Regions from separate parts of the Homo sapiens genome. Here all the other regions are linked to region 1. The links are contacts of gene promoters, found by promoter capture Hi-C in blood cells and fetal thymus (Javierre and others, 2016). All regions are on one chromosome and are shown on one strand. The core of a region is centred on a gene start or on the middle of the fragment in contact, and the rest is flanking DNA. Distances in the headings are between cores, read along the strand shown. Region 1 holds the start of C10orf88 (chromosome 10 open reading frame 88). Region 2 overlaps BCCIP (BRCA2 and CDKN1A interacting protein). Region 3 overlaps DHX32 (DEAH-box helicase 32 (putative)).

The links. Contacts are between HindIII fragments. The CHiCAGO score rates a contact against its expected background, and 5 or more counts as called.
Region 2: a fragment that was not itself captured here is called in contact with the fragment with the promoter of C10orf88 in region 1 in 3 of 17 cell types (fetal thymus, non-activated CD4 T cells and monocytes); the score reaches 6.8 in fetal thymus.
Region 3: a contact is called between a fragment that was not itself captured here and the fragment with the promoter of C10orf88 in region 1, in 1 of 17 cell types (monocytes). The highest score is 5.8, in monocytes.

Annotation. Positions count from the first base shown.
Region 1 is chr10:122,952,439-122,956,262 of GRCh38, forward strand. C10orf88 (chromosome 10 open reading frame 88) reads right to left here and starts at 1,789. Exons shown (of 6, transcript NM_024942.4): 1 at 1,577-1,789; 2 at 391-594. The coding sequence starts at 1,740. It overlaps LOC124902519 (a long non-coding RNA gene), which reads left to right and starts at 2,004. Exons shown (of 2, transcript XR_007062325.1): 1 at 2,004-2,130. RefSeq lists a silencer at 1,505-1,584. The HindIII fragment of the contact is 5,860 bases long and covers 1-3,769 here.
Region 2 is chr10:125,825,002-125,829,302 of GRCh38, forward strand. It overlaps BCCIP (BRCA2 and CDKN1A interacting protein), which reads left to right. Exons shown (of 7, transcript NM_078468.3): 2 at 1,590-1,664; 3 at 2,557-2,637. Among named protein-coding and RNA genes, the nearest start is that of BCCIP, 3.6 kb to the left of the region's middle. The HindIII fragment of the contact is 1,463 bases long and covers 1,610-3,072 here.
Region 3 is chr10:125,856,234-125,860,273 of GRCh38, forward strand. It overlaps DHX32 (DEAH-box helicase 32 (putative)), which reads right to left. Exons shown (of 11, transcript NM_018180.3): 3 at 3,370-3,742. Among named protein-coding and RNA genes, the nearest start is that of DHX32, 23 kb to the right of the region's middle. The HindIII fragment of the contact is 2,494 bases long and covers 822-3,315 here.

The DNA.
Region 1 (3,824 bases), core at 539-3,038:
TCTAATAGGCTTCCAAGAAGAAAATGTATTCAAAGTTCCAGACTGACTACCAAATTAACTTTCGGAAGACAGACTGCTGTGAGTTTAAGGAAAGAGACACACTTCTCAAAATTTCATTCTAATAAAACTCTTCCACTAACTAGCTATGACCTCCTACCAATTCACCTTGATTGTTAGTTCTAAATTTCAACATTTATAAAAATAACTAGGCTGATCTACACTGTCTTTTAAGATCTCTAAAGTTGTAAACTTCTATGCCTACTGGCACATTTTTATCTTCTCTCCCATAACATATGGTATCAATATCAGAGAATCAATAATTATTGCAAAAAGTGAGAAAAATCAAAACACTACTTCAGAAGAACACTTTCCCGTGTACAAGTCACACACCTGTCATCCAGGACAGTACAAACATTCTTGCCCCTACTGGTTCCACAGTACTCCTCTCCTAAGTACACTTCCATATTTCTTGCTGAACTTAAAATGCCAATAGAAGCGATTTCTTCACCTCCATCAGGGCCACACCTCAGGTAAAGGAAGCAGGGGTTTTCATCTTTGTTGTTGTGGTTTCTCTTCAAAATCACCAGATCCTGACTGAGAAGAAAATTGGTGAAAACATCACACAGTATAGTTCTCTGAACATGACTCTTCTTTTTTGAGACGGAGTCTGGCTCTGTCGCCCAGGCTGGAATGCAGTGGCTCCATCTCGGCTCACTGCACGCTCCGCCTTCCGGGTTCACGCCATTCTCCTGCCTCAGCCTCCCAAGCAGCTGGGACTACAGGCACCCGCCACCGCGCCCGGCTAATTTTTTGTATTTTTCGTAGAGACGGGGTTTCGCCGTGTTAGCCAGGATGGTCTTGATCTCCTGACGTCGTGATCCGCCCGCCTCGGCCTCCCAAAGTGCTGGGATTACAGGTGTGAGCCACCGTGCCCGGCCGGGGCTTCTTTCTTCTAACTCACTTCCACTTGCCCTTGAGGTCCAAGCACCTTCCCAAGCATCCAAGAAGCGCTCAACACAGAATTCATACGGAAATGAAGGTGTCACACATCAGGGCTTTCCCAAACTCTATTTTTTCCTCAATCAACATTCTACTCAATCCCCTGCAATTGACTCTCGGATAATTACATAAATCACTGGGCACCTACTGGGTGCAGGGCACAATGAAAGACAAAAGTGTATCTTTTTCGAAATTAAGTCGACAGCGATCATCTATAGCTGGACTTTTTACACAGCCTGTTTTGGTGGACAGGAGGTGTCTTGTTTGAGGGTAGAGGGGCGGACTGACTTTGACAGCAGCCCTGAGGGGCTATCACGCCTGATGGGGACGTTATATGAAATTCCGAGTCCGGGTCACCTTCCCCCTCTCACGCCCAGGAGCCTCGGCCCCTTCCCGGCCGGACCCACCCCCCTCCGCCCACCCCGGACGACCTCGCAGCTCCCCTCCCCAACTAGAGACCTGGTACCAACTGCTCTCCCGGATCCCGGGCTCAGACCCTCTCGCCTCCCCTCACAGCTCCCCTAGAAGCGCGGCAGTTGCCGAGCATAGCGACCCCGTCCCCGTCGGCCCGGCGCACCCTGGAGCAGGCGGTGCCAGCAGCTCCTCCCAGTCGAAGTCACCGGGGCCGAGACCGGCCCGGGTGAGGAGGAGGCTGTGGGTCAGGGCCCCGCCTGCAACATCCCAAGAAGAGGCCAGCGTGGGGCGGCGGGTGAGGCCCCCGTCCTCGGTCCGCGTCTCCATTCCGCCGCCTTCAGTCAGGCCAGCCCAGCCCCGGAACCTCTCTTCCAGTGCTTGAATTTCCGCCGGTACAGCGTGGAAATGGGCAGGCAAAGCGACTTCCGGCTCACTCCGCTTCAAGTACCCGCCGCTTCTTGCTTTGGTGGGGAGAGCAGGCACCAGAGACACGCATGCGCATGTGCCAGCTGGCCTCAGGCGCGGCGTTCAAAGTGTGCGGGGAGGAGGTCGAGAGCGGAGCATGCGCACTGGCAGACCCTTGCTCTTTCGCTGGAGACTATGCGCAGGCGCGGTGCACTGCGCGCCGGCACGAGGGTGTTTTCGACGTTGGCTGTGGGGAAACAGCAAGCGGCGTGGACGACCGTTGCTGAGCTGGTGTGGAACGTCTGTGATCAGGTAGGTGTAGTCTCGTCGCTCTACGCTGCGTGCAAGACCGACTCCTGACCTCGTTCTTTCCCAAGGGGACGCCAGGGCCTTTTCTGCTTCCATTCCGTCGGATCTGCAGCATTTGTGGCAGCTAGCGCGGCGGACGCGCTGCCGATTCGGGTTATTTTTACTTCGAATTCTCCTAGCCTCCCTCACACATATTCTCGCTTTAGAGGGGGGCTGAAGCGGATGATGGGGTTTTGGGGTTGAAGGGCATCTGTGATGGGCATTGAGCCACGCTGGCCTTCGCCGGGTGCTGTCTCAGCTGACGCCCCCTGACCCCATGTGCAACCCTCAGGCCGCAGGAACCCGGGCATCCAGGGCTGGACGCTCTAGGTGACAGAAATTTGAAATGCAAGAAAGACCCAGACACCGAAGGCAGGGGCTGCCCCATGAGATCGCTCCTCATGGCACTGGAAACAGCGAGTGGAAAGGGGGGGTCTCAGAACTCTGTTGAAGTAGAATATGAACTCAGTCTTGAAGGAACTTAAGGCTACGGATGCAGAACAGTGGGAGCAGATGGAACTTTCTAGATGCCCCACGGGATGGGACTGTATATAGTGTGCCCCCTCATCCTCCTCCTGTAGAGGCTTGTGCAGATTATTTTTCTGTCTTTTGAAAAAAGCAAACTCTGAAATTCCACTTGTCTATAATCTAGAGTTCCAAAGTTGTGTTTAAGGTGGTATCCTCTCTAGGAAATAACGTTTTTGCTCACCCATACTCTAATTTTCTTTCAGAGCTGTCTATTCTGGGTTCATGACTCAGTGCGCATTACTTTAATCTTTTTGCTTATGTTTTCGTTTGAGTTTATGTACTAGGACTTGTGCCCTCTAGCTAAAAATGAGAATAAACTTTGCATTCTGTTTACCTGTGTCAAAGCAAGAAAAATGATGACCAAATGTATTTTTCTATAAGTAATCACCAGAATGTACGTATGGTAGGTGAATTCACCAAGATTGAAAGAGAGAAATGTCACCAAAGGTCTATCATAGCAGAATTGTAAAGTCCTCGTTTGCAAAGATTTTTTTAATATTTCAGACTCATTCTAAGTTGTCCTTGTCATTATTTTTGTCCTGTATGTCCTGCTTCCTGTGGTTGTAAGTTAACTTTGATCCACATTAATACATGTGGACAATCCGAAGGAAAATAGGCTCTTCAGAAACTAATCTGCAATTTCATGAGCAATAGCAATATTATAAACTGGATTTTGACTTCCTTAAATAAAGCTGAATGTCCAGGAATCAGAAAACAAAAGATTCCTATGGTCTATCCTTTCCTTTATTTCCATACAGCCAATAAACCACCAAGTCTTCATTTTCTTAAAGAAAAATTTTCCTATCTCTGCTTCTTCTGTTTCCAAGCACTAGCTTTATCTGAACAATTCCAGGAGTTTGTCAGTAGCTTTCATTTTGATTCCTTCCATTTCAGTCTTTGCACTGCCCTCTTCTCCTTCTGGTGATCAATGTTCCTGACTGAATCAACACCTTCACTCCTTAGCATAGCATGCAGAGTCCTTTGTACTTTGAACCCTGCCTACCTTCCAGTTTCCTCTACCTAGAATGCCATTTTTTTCAATAGTAGGAAAAATCCTATTTATCATGCGAAACCAAGCTTACTTCATCCTGCTACAGAATTAAACAAATTCCTCTGTGCTACAATTACCA
Region 2 (4,301 bases), core at 1,091-3,590, 2.9 Mb after region 1:
TTCCTTCCCTTACAAATTTTACTTTGGCTCTATGCCTTGAATGCCATCTCACCATTTTTCACTTAGAACTTTGACTGGCTCTTTTATTACTTTTGGGTTATAGAAATCAATGCTGCTTGTGTTAACATGGGAAATCTATCACACCACCACAGTCTTAATTCTAAATCACCTGGGAATGAGGGACAGGGCTCTTTTCTACAAACGTGACTGTTCCTGCTGAAGCCATGTGGAGATGAGCCCATACCCAGGAAAAGGGTGCTGGACAGATAATCCATTTGCCGCCCATTTCCCTGGTGGTGCCATAATAGTCTGGGACAGAGGTCCGAGATGTCTGTCTAGACAAAGAAAAAAACACTAGATGAGCATTATTTACAGAATGTATTTATATCTAAGGAATAAGTTTAAGTCCTGAATAATGACAGTTTGTTATTTGGTTTAGTTTGATCCTGTTTGGAACACTCCCACCCGACCCCTTGTGTTTTGCTGCTCACATAATCTGGCTAAGTTAGCATTTGAAGTCTGCAAAGCTGGACTTAAAGAGTTCAAATTGGAGCTGGAATTGCTCTAAGCAATTCCAGGGCCTTGCAATTTTACAATTAAGGAAGACTTAAATATATACATAGTCAGGGTGGCAAGGTAAAAGGAGGTCTGATTTCCTCTGCGATGTTCTTCAGCTAAGACCTAAATTCTGAAACCGTTAAAACCTGAAGTGCCTTTAAATATATTATTTCATCAGAGCCCCAGGTTCATTGTGTCACTTATCAAGGTCTGATTTAGGGTCCTCAAGGACTAATCTTGTTAGTGTTTAAAAGCAACTAGGTTTTGTTTTTGGCATTTTAGTTCCATCTTCTAGATTCTGTTGTCTTGCAGATAGAGATCAGGGAGCCCAGCTACACATTCATTCTTCTAGTCCCTTGTACTCATTGTATTTCCTTCTGCCTTAGGGCCTTAGTTTGTGCTGTTCCCTGTACCAGGAACTCTCTTTGCTGTTTCTCGGTTTCTTGCTCAAATGTCACTTCAAGGAAGGCTTTCCTGACTGACTTCTTATTTTTTAAGTTGTTACAACATTGTGTACCTTTGTTTTATAGCACTTACATTTATTTCTATGAATATTTCCTTAATGCCTATATTCCTTCCTAAATCGTAAGCTGCACGAGAGCAGGATCATTTGTGTCTGCCTTACTAACCTTTTCATCTTGAGTGCCTGGCACAGTGCTTGGTACCTGGATTGATACTTAATAAATATTTGCTAAGCAAATGTAGTGTAACCTCAAATCCATGGGCTAAGTCAAGCTCTAGGCAATTCCAGGGACTTTTGAAGTGATTTTGATTTTTGCCCACCCTTGTAATCAGGAAAATAATTTATCCTTTGTGGCTGCCGTGTCTGGTTTATTTGAACTGGACTTTCTCAACATTTAAACTAGGTTACTCTGAGTGTTTTGTTTTCTCAGGCTTTTGTGTCACCTGAAGAAATAGTGTGAAGGTGCTTTGTATTCTTCACAGATGGCAATCTTGGCAATGTTTGCCTGTTTTAAAGTCTAGATGTTTGTAGTTTTTCTGGTAACAACTATTTTGTGTGTTATTTACAGGAAGTGAATATTGAATTTGAAGCTTATTCCCTATCAGATAATGATTATGACGGAATTAAGAAATTACTGCAGCAGGTATTGTCTTTTATTTATTATGCATAAATTTCCTCTTCTAAGAAAAATCAGGGGCCGGGTGCAGTGGTTCATGCCTATAATCTCAGCATTTTGGAAGGCCGAGGTGAGAGGATTGCTTGAGCCCAGGAGTTTGAGACCAGCCTGGGCAACATAATGAGAACCTGTCTCTACAAAAAAATTAAAAATTAGCCAACTGTGGTAGCACACACCGTTAGTCCTAACTCCTCAGGAGGCTGAGGCTGGAGGATTACTTGAGTCTAAGAGCTCAAGGCTGCAGCTATGAATGTGCCATTGAGCTCCAGTCTGGGCAACAGAGTGAGCCTCTGTCTCTAAAAAAAAAGAAAATTCAGGTCATTCAATACAGGCTCTCCCAAGTTCATCTTTTTAGAATTTCCATTTCTATCCTCTCCACCTTGCCTGGAAGGAAGAATTATTTCCTTTCATCTGCTAATTAGAGTTATTTTGTTTTTTTTTTTAATTCACAATTCTTATGTAACAGTCATATAACTGTGCTGTTTGGTGCTATAAAATTGATGCTTGCTGCTTCTCCTTATTCTTTTACTCATATAATATGACTTTGGTTCTTTAGCCTTTATAGCTCTACCGTCTTTTTCACCAAATTCTTTGGCCTTAAGTTTATCCTCTCTCGTTTCTCCCTTTTTTCTCCCCCTCCCCCATTACTTCTATATTACTACTGACTTCTTCTTTTCTGAAATTTCCTAATCTTTAGCTTCTTTGACTCTCCTGGGCTTTTCTTTCCCTCTTGGGGTTGCTTTTCTAGATCATCATCTTAAGTCACAGAAATTTCATTGTTTGTATTTGAATATAGGATTTGAAGTTATTAGAAATCATGCTTTGATCTTAATTTAAAATAATTTTTTCCTCCTTTTAGCTTTTTCTAAAGGCTCCTGTGAACACTGCAGAACTAACAGATCTCTTAATTCAACAGAACCATATTGGGAGTGTGATTAAGGTAAGTAGGATAATTGTGTTTATTCTGATTAAATGAGTTCTTTATTCTGTTCATGCTGGGCCTCACCATGCTTGTAATCCCAGCACTTTGGGAAGCAAAGGTGGGAGGATTGCTTGAGGCCAGGAGTTCAAGACCATCCTGGGCAATATAGCAATACTCTGTCTCTACAAAAAATAACAAAAAATTAGCCGGGCATAGTAGCACATGCCTGTAGTCTTTTTACCCAGGTGGCTGAGGTAGGAGGATCTCTTGAGCCAAGAAGTTGAAGGCCATGGTGAGCTTTGTGCCGCTGCACTCTAGCCGGGCAACACAGCAAGACCCTATATCTGAAAAAAAAAAAAAAAAAAAAAAAAAGTTCTTTATTCTGTTTAGCTCAAATTGGAAGCAGTATTACTGGAGGAATGGAGACTGATCAGAAGTCATTGCAGAAATCCAAGCTTATTAAATGCAGTAGTCCAGGTGGGGGCAATGGAGAGGGAGAGAAGTGGGCTCATTTAGAAAATATTTGGGAGATGAAATATGATGAGGTTTAGTCCCTGATTGGGTCTGAAAGTGAGAGGAAAAGGAGTCAAGGATGACTTCCAGGTTTCTAGCTTGAGCAAACAGGATAACAAACATGGAGGAAGGTCAAATTAGGAGGGGGAATGTGAATTTGGATTTGTACATTTTGAGTTTGAGTTACCTGTGAGATACCGGGTAGCAGGTGGAGCCCTGGAGACTTGGGAGTTGGTCGTAAATGTTACTGAGGTCGTAGAAGTGATTGAGATTGCGCAGGGAGGGAAGGGACAGACACCTTAGTAATACCAAGAATACTTCGATGAGTAATATAAGTGGCAGAGCCAGCAAAGGAGATTAAAAGGGATGACAGGAGAAGTAGAAGAAACAATAGTGCAGTGATGTCATACACAGCAAGAAAGATAACATTTGAAGGAGGAGGGGATGGTCATCTTTATCAGATAGATGTTGTAGAGAGCTCAACAAAATAAGGACTGGTTTAGACCCTGGGTCTGCTGCTTATCATCTGGTGGTTCTTTGGGTTATCTGTTGTTTGTATAACAAACCACCCCATAGCTTAGTGTCGTAAAATAGCAGTAGTCATTTATTTGGCTAATGGATCTACAGTTTGGACAGAGCTCAGTGGGCACAACTCATCTGTGCTCCTGCTCCATCATGTTAGCTGGGGTGGCTTGACTAGGGGCTGGAGGATTCCCTTTCAAGATGGCTCACTCACATGACTGGCAAGTTAGCCCTAGCTGTCTGTCGGGAGCTTAGCTGGGACTCTGGACCAGGGGCCTTAGTTCTTCTCCATGTGGGCCTCGTCACACATTGGTTTGCTTCCAAGAGCAAGCTGCCCAAAAGAAGCAGGCAGAAGTGATATAGTGCCATTTCCACCATTTGCTTAGTCTTTACAGATAGAAATTTCTATCTAGGGGGAGGGCACATTGATCCCACCACTCCATGAGAAAAGTACCTAGGTCACTTTGTCAGAAGAGCATGTCCAAGGAGAGATCCATTGGGGCCATCTGTGAAAGATACAGTCTGCCACAGTACCTTAATCTGTTTCCATTTCTGTCTCTGAAAATGAGGATGGTACTAGCACCGATCTTGTAGAGTGCATGGGTAAACAAAATGAATTGCTGACTGCTTAAAACAGTGTCTGGCAG
Region 3 (4,040 bases), core at 819-3,318, 2.9 Mb after region 1:
AGGACGATATCTAGCAGACATCTAGCTCACCAAAAATGAAAGAAGATCCACAACTGCATAAAACATTTCCCAGGAAAACCTCCAACCTAAAAACACCTTTGTGATAGTTTATTACTGTACAGTAATCTGGCTACATATTATCGTAAATCTCAATGTATGTTTTCTGCTTATTTCATATTTTGTCTTCCGGTTAAAAGACAGCTAGGTGATAGGAAACAACACGCTAAACATTCAGGGCTCTAAGTCTCAATTAAGTGCCAAGACACAGGGCAGCCTGTGAATCACAGAGATTAATTCACAGCAGGTGTGGTGCTAGGCAAGTGGCTGGAGAAAATGTGACACACCTAAGGCAAATGCACTGCCGTTTCACCAAAATGTTTGAGAATATTTCTGTAATTTAAAACATACTTCTTAATATAAAAAATGGCAGGGCTGGGTGCAGTGGCTCATGCCTATAATCCCAGCACTTTGGGAGGCCAAGACAGGAGAACTGCTTGAGGCCAGGAGTTCAAGACCAGCCTGGGCAACATAGTTAGACCCCGTCTCTACCAAAAAAAAAACAAAAAACAAAAACTAGCTGGGCATACTGGTGCACACCTGTAATCCCAGCTACTTTGAAGGCTGAAGAGGTAGATGGCTTGAGCCCAGGAGTTCGAGGTCACACTGAGCCAAGATCACACCACTGCACTCCAGCCTAGGCAACATAGTGAGGTCCTGTCTCTAAGTAAATAAATACAAATTTTAAATGACAATTAATACATTTGTATTAGACTGGTTGAGTTTGTTTTCACATGATATTTAAGTGCTACGGTAGGTTTTAAAGCTTTATATAGAAATCAAGAAAGCATCAAATAGCATGGGGGGAAATGATCAATAGCTGTTAGCACTGATTTCGGTGCAAGACAAATCTTTCCAAGACACAAATCCCAATCCATAAGAGATGAGAATCTTAATGAGGGATCCTGACAAAAATAGTAAAAAAGAAAAGTCCATCAGTATACTGAATGGTGTTCTGCTTGTTAGGCAGTAGATGGGGTAAGGAAAACCAGATAACACCTGTGGAATCCAAGGCTGAAGCAGGAGAAAGAAACCTGGTGCCCAGGTAAAGTCTGCTGAAGCCAGCCCAATGTCAGTGGCTGGCTTGCTGCCCCACCCACAGGGCAGGTCGGCTGTTGAGCCCCTGAACAATGAGGAGCTCACCTTTAGAGGGTCCAGTGCTCCGCCTGGGTCACAGAGGCTCAGAATTACAAAATCCTCTGGTAGCTTTCATGGCACTCTCACTTTAAGACTGCAAGACTGATGGTTTCTTAATAGGAATGCCTTTCCAGCCTGCCTTCAGGGGAAATTACATACCTCTCCAAGTCCTGTGGCATTTACAGTTTCTACTACCAGCCTGGATAATGATGCATGTTCTAAAGTTGACAGTTCAAAAGTCACTCTACAATTAATTATAGTTTATATTAAACTTATAAGAATCATGTACTCTAAGACCATCTGCACCTCAGTTCTGTTATGAGCTTTATTTTCCAAGATCCAAAATCCATTTCCAAATCCATTTAGGAATTTTTGCTTACCCTGACTTGAAGGATTACACCCATCCTATCAGTCTTAATTGCATTTTTTTCTTGCAGAAATGTATATCCTGGTTTTTTTTTTTTAATTTTTCATTTTTTTTTTTTTTCTAGAGACAGGGTCTTGCTCTGTCACCCAGGCTGGAGTGCAGTGGTGCAATCATAGCTCACTGCAGCCTCAAACTCCTTAGTTCAAGCAATCCTCCCACCTCAGCTTCCTGAGTAGGTGGGACTACAGGCCTGAGCCACCATGCCTGGCTAATTTTTTAATTTTTTTGTTGAGATAGGGTCCTGCTATGTTGTCAAGGCTGGTCTCAACCTCCTGGCCTCACGTGATCCTCCCGCCTCAGCCTCCCAAAGTGCTGTCATTACAGGTGTGAGCCACAGTGCCCGGCCTACGTCCTGTTTTTCACCTGGCAATTCTGACTCTCAAATATATTAGATTTGCCATTCTTCCCTTCCTTAGGCTTCATCTGTTTACACTGAGAACCTCCAACTGTTTTCATAAATCCTATGTCTCCGTAATCATTTTATTATTTTCCTCAGGACTTTCTTGAATATCTTGAATCATGCAGGATGAGATGATAACAGAATAAATCACTGTAATAGGCAGATTTGCTATTCAAGAGAATGTATATCATATACATACAAAAAATGATAAATATGCAGTCATATTGAGGTTCTAGAAACAGATACATTTAAGAAAACTAAAGTTCCCAAAGCCAGAAGGAGCTGTCATCCTTTATGCTTTGAGTATAAAATAGAATAAATACTTCTGAAAGTGTTTCTGAAATATGTGGATGTTCAAGAAAAGGCTCTGACAGACAGCTGAGCCACTTATCTGTTCAGCTGTGGCTCAGCCTACATCAAATAATTTCCTTTTTGGTTTCTGTTTAATGAGTAGAACCACTACATATATGGGTCATGGTCTAAAAACTCATGCTTCTCCTCTCTGTGGGAGAAGACAGGGAAAAAAGGCCAGGCAATTAGTCTCCATGAAGAGAGGTCTAATTCTGGAGATCCTGGAGGCTTTTAGATTCAGCCAACAGAGTAGTGGGGAAAGAAATAGGGCCAGTGTAGCTGCAATTTAAAAAAAAAATGCAACCCCAAATGGTACCTTGGCTGTCTAAAAGCAGTAACAGAATGGAAATGATGCTTGATTGCACATTTCCAGTCATTCTTTTAAAGAGATGTTTTAAAGAAATCTGAGTTAAAGGTTTTTTTTTTTGTTTGTTTGTTTGTTTTTTTTTTTTTTTTTTAATCTTTTAAGAATGGAGCCCCAGTCCAGGGAGATGACCTTTTCGGGTGGGCTATATTTTCTGCCCATACTCCACTGACTATCACAGGACTGCTTGTGGGAAATGTTGTGTTACTTAACTCTATGGTGAGTGCTTAGGTAATAGTCCTGATCTCCAACAAACACACCTGCTCACAGGGAGGCAGTGGAGAATGTCAGGGGAGTCGGCATGCACCTACTGTACCAAGAGACAATTCACAGCAAGCATAAATAGAGCCAGCTGTGCCTTTGGGGCAGCCACTCTCTGGCCTGAGCCTGCTGGAGGGAAGTTGGCTCTGGAGATCATGTCTAGAGACTCCTCACCCATATTTTGTTTTCAGAACTGCATGTGATTTTAGAAACACTTCCTGTTCTCCTTTCAGCACAGGTTTTATTTAATGAGGTGTGATGAAACCAAATATTTAAACAGTTAATTAGCAAACTGAAACCTGTATGTTAGTTATTAAAAGCTTCCCAAATGAAATACCTTATTACTGTAAGGTTAGAGTATCACTTACTTACTTGTTCACAGGCCAGAAAGACTACAATGTCACCTTTCTCACCCGAGTGGTGAATTTCAAAGATAAGGCGTAAAATAGACTCAAAAGAATCCTTTTGAGCCTCACTAAGGTACACAACCTCCACAGGGTGTTTATTTTTCACTTCTATGACAGGCACGTTTCCATAATAAGAATTGAGTTTGCTGATCAGGTGAGGTGAGGAGTTAATTATGAGCTTCAGTTCTGGTCTTGCTAGTAAAACATCTTTAAGAAGTCCAAGTAACACATCAGTTGCAATGCTTCTTTCATGAATATCATCTAAGATGATGACCCCATAGCTACCCAAAAAAGGATTGGACATCATTTCTCTTTGCAGCATATCATCAGTACAATACCTATAAAGAAGAAACATTAAAGTTAGAATATTCTTATGCTAACTCATGCAAAAAACTTCCTAACAAGAAAAATGCCTTTCCTATATTCATTTCTCTAAATCAGTAACTCTAAATTTTTACTGGGGCCAAAATTCCTTTAAGTTGATACAATCTACAGAATTATAGCACAAAAAAACACAGATAAACAAGATTTATACCCAGTTTGTATATGTTCATGGACTGCCCCCTACAAAGACCATTCTGAACCCTAAGTTAAAGACCTCTGCCTAAATGTTTATTACAAATATTAATAAAAGCC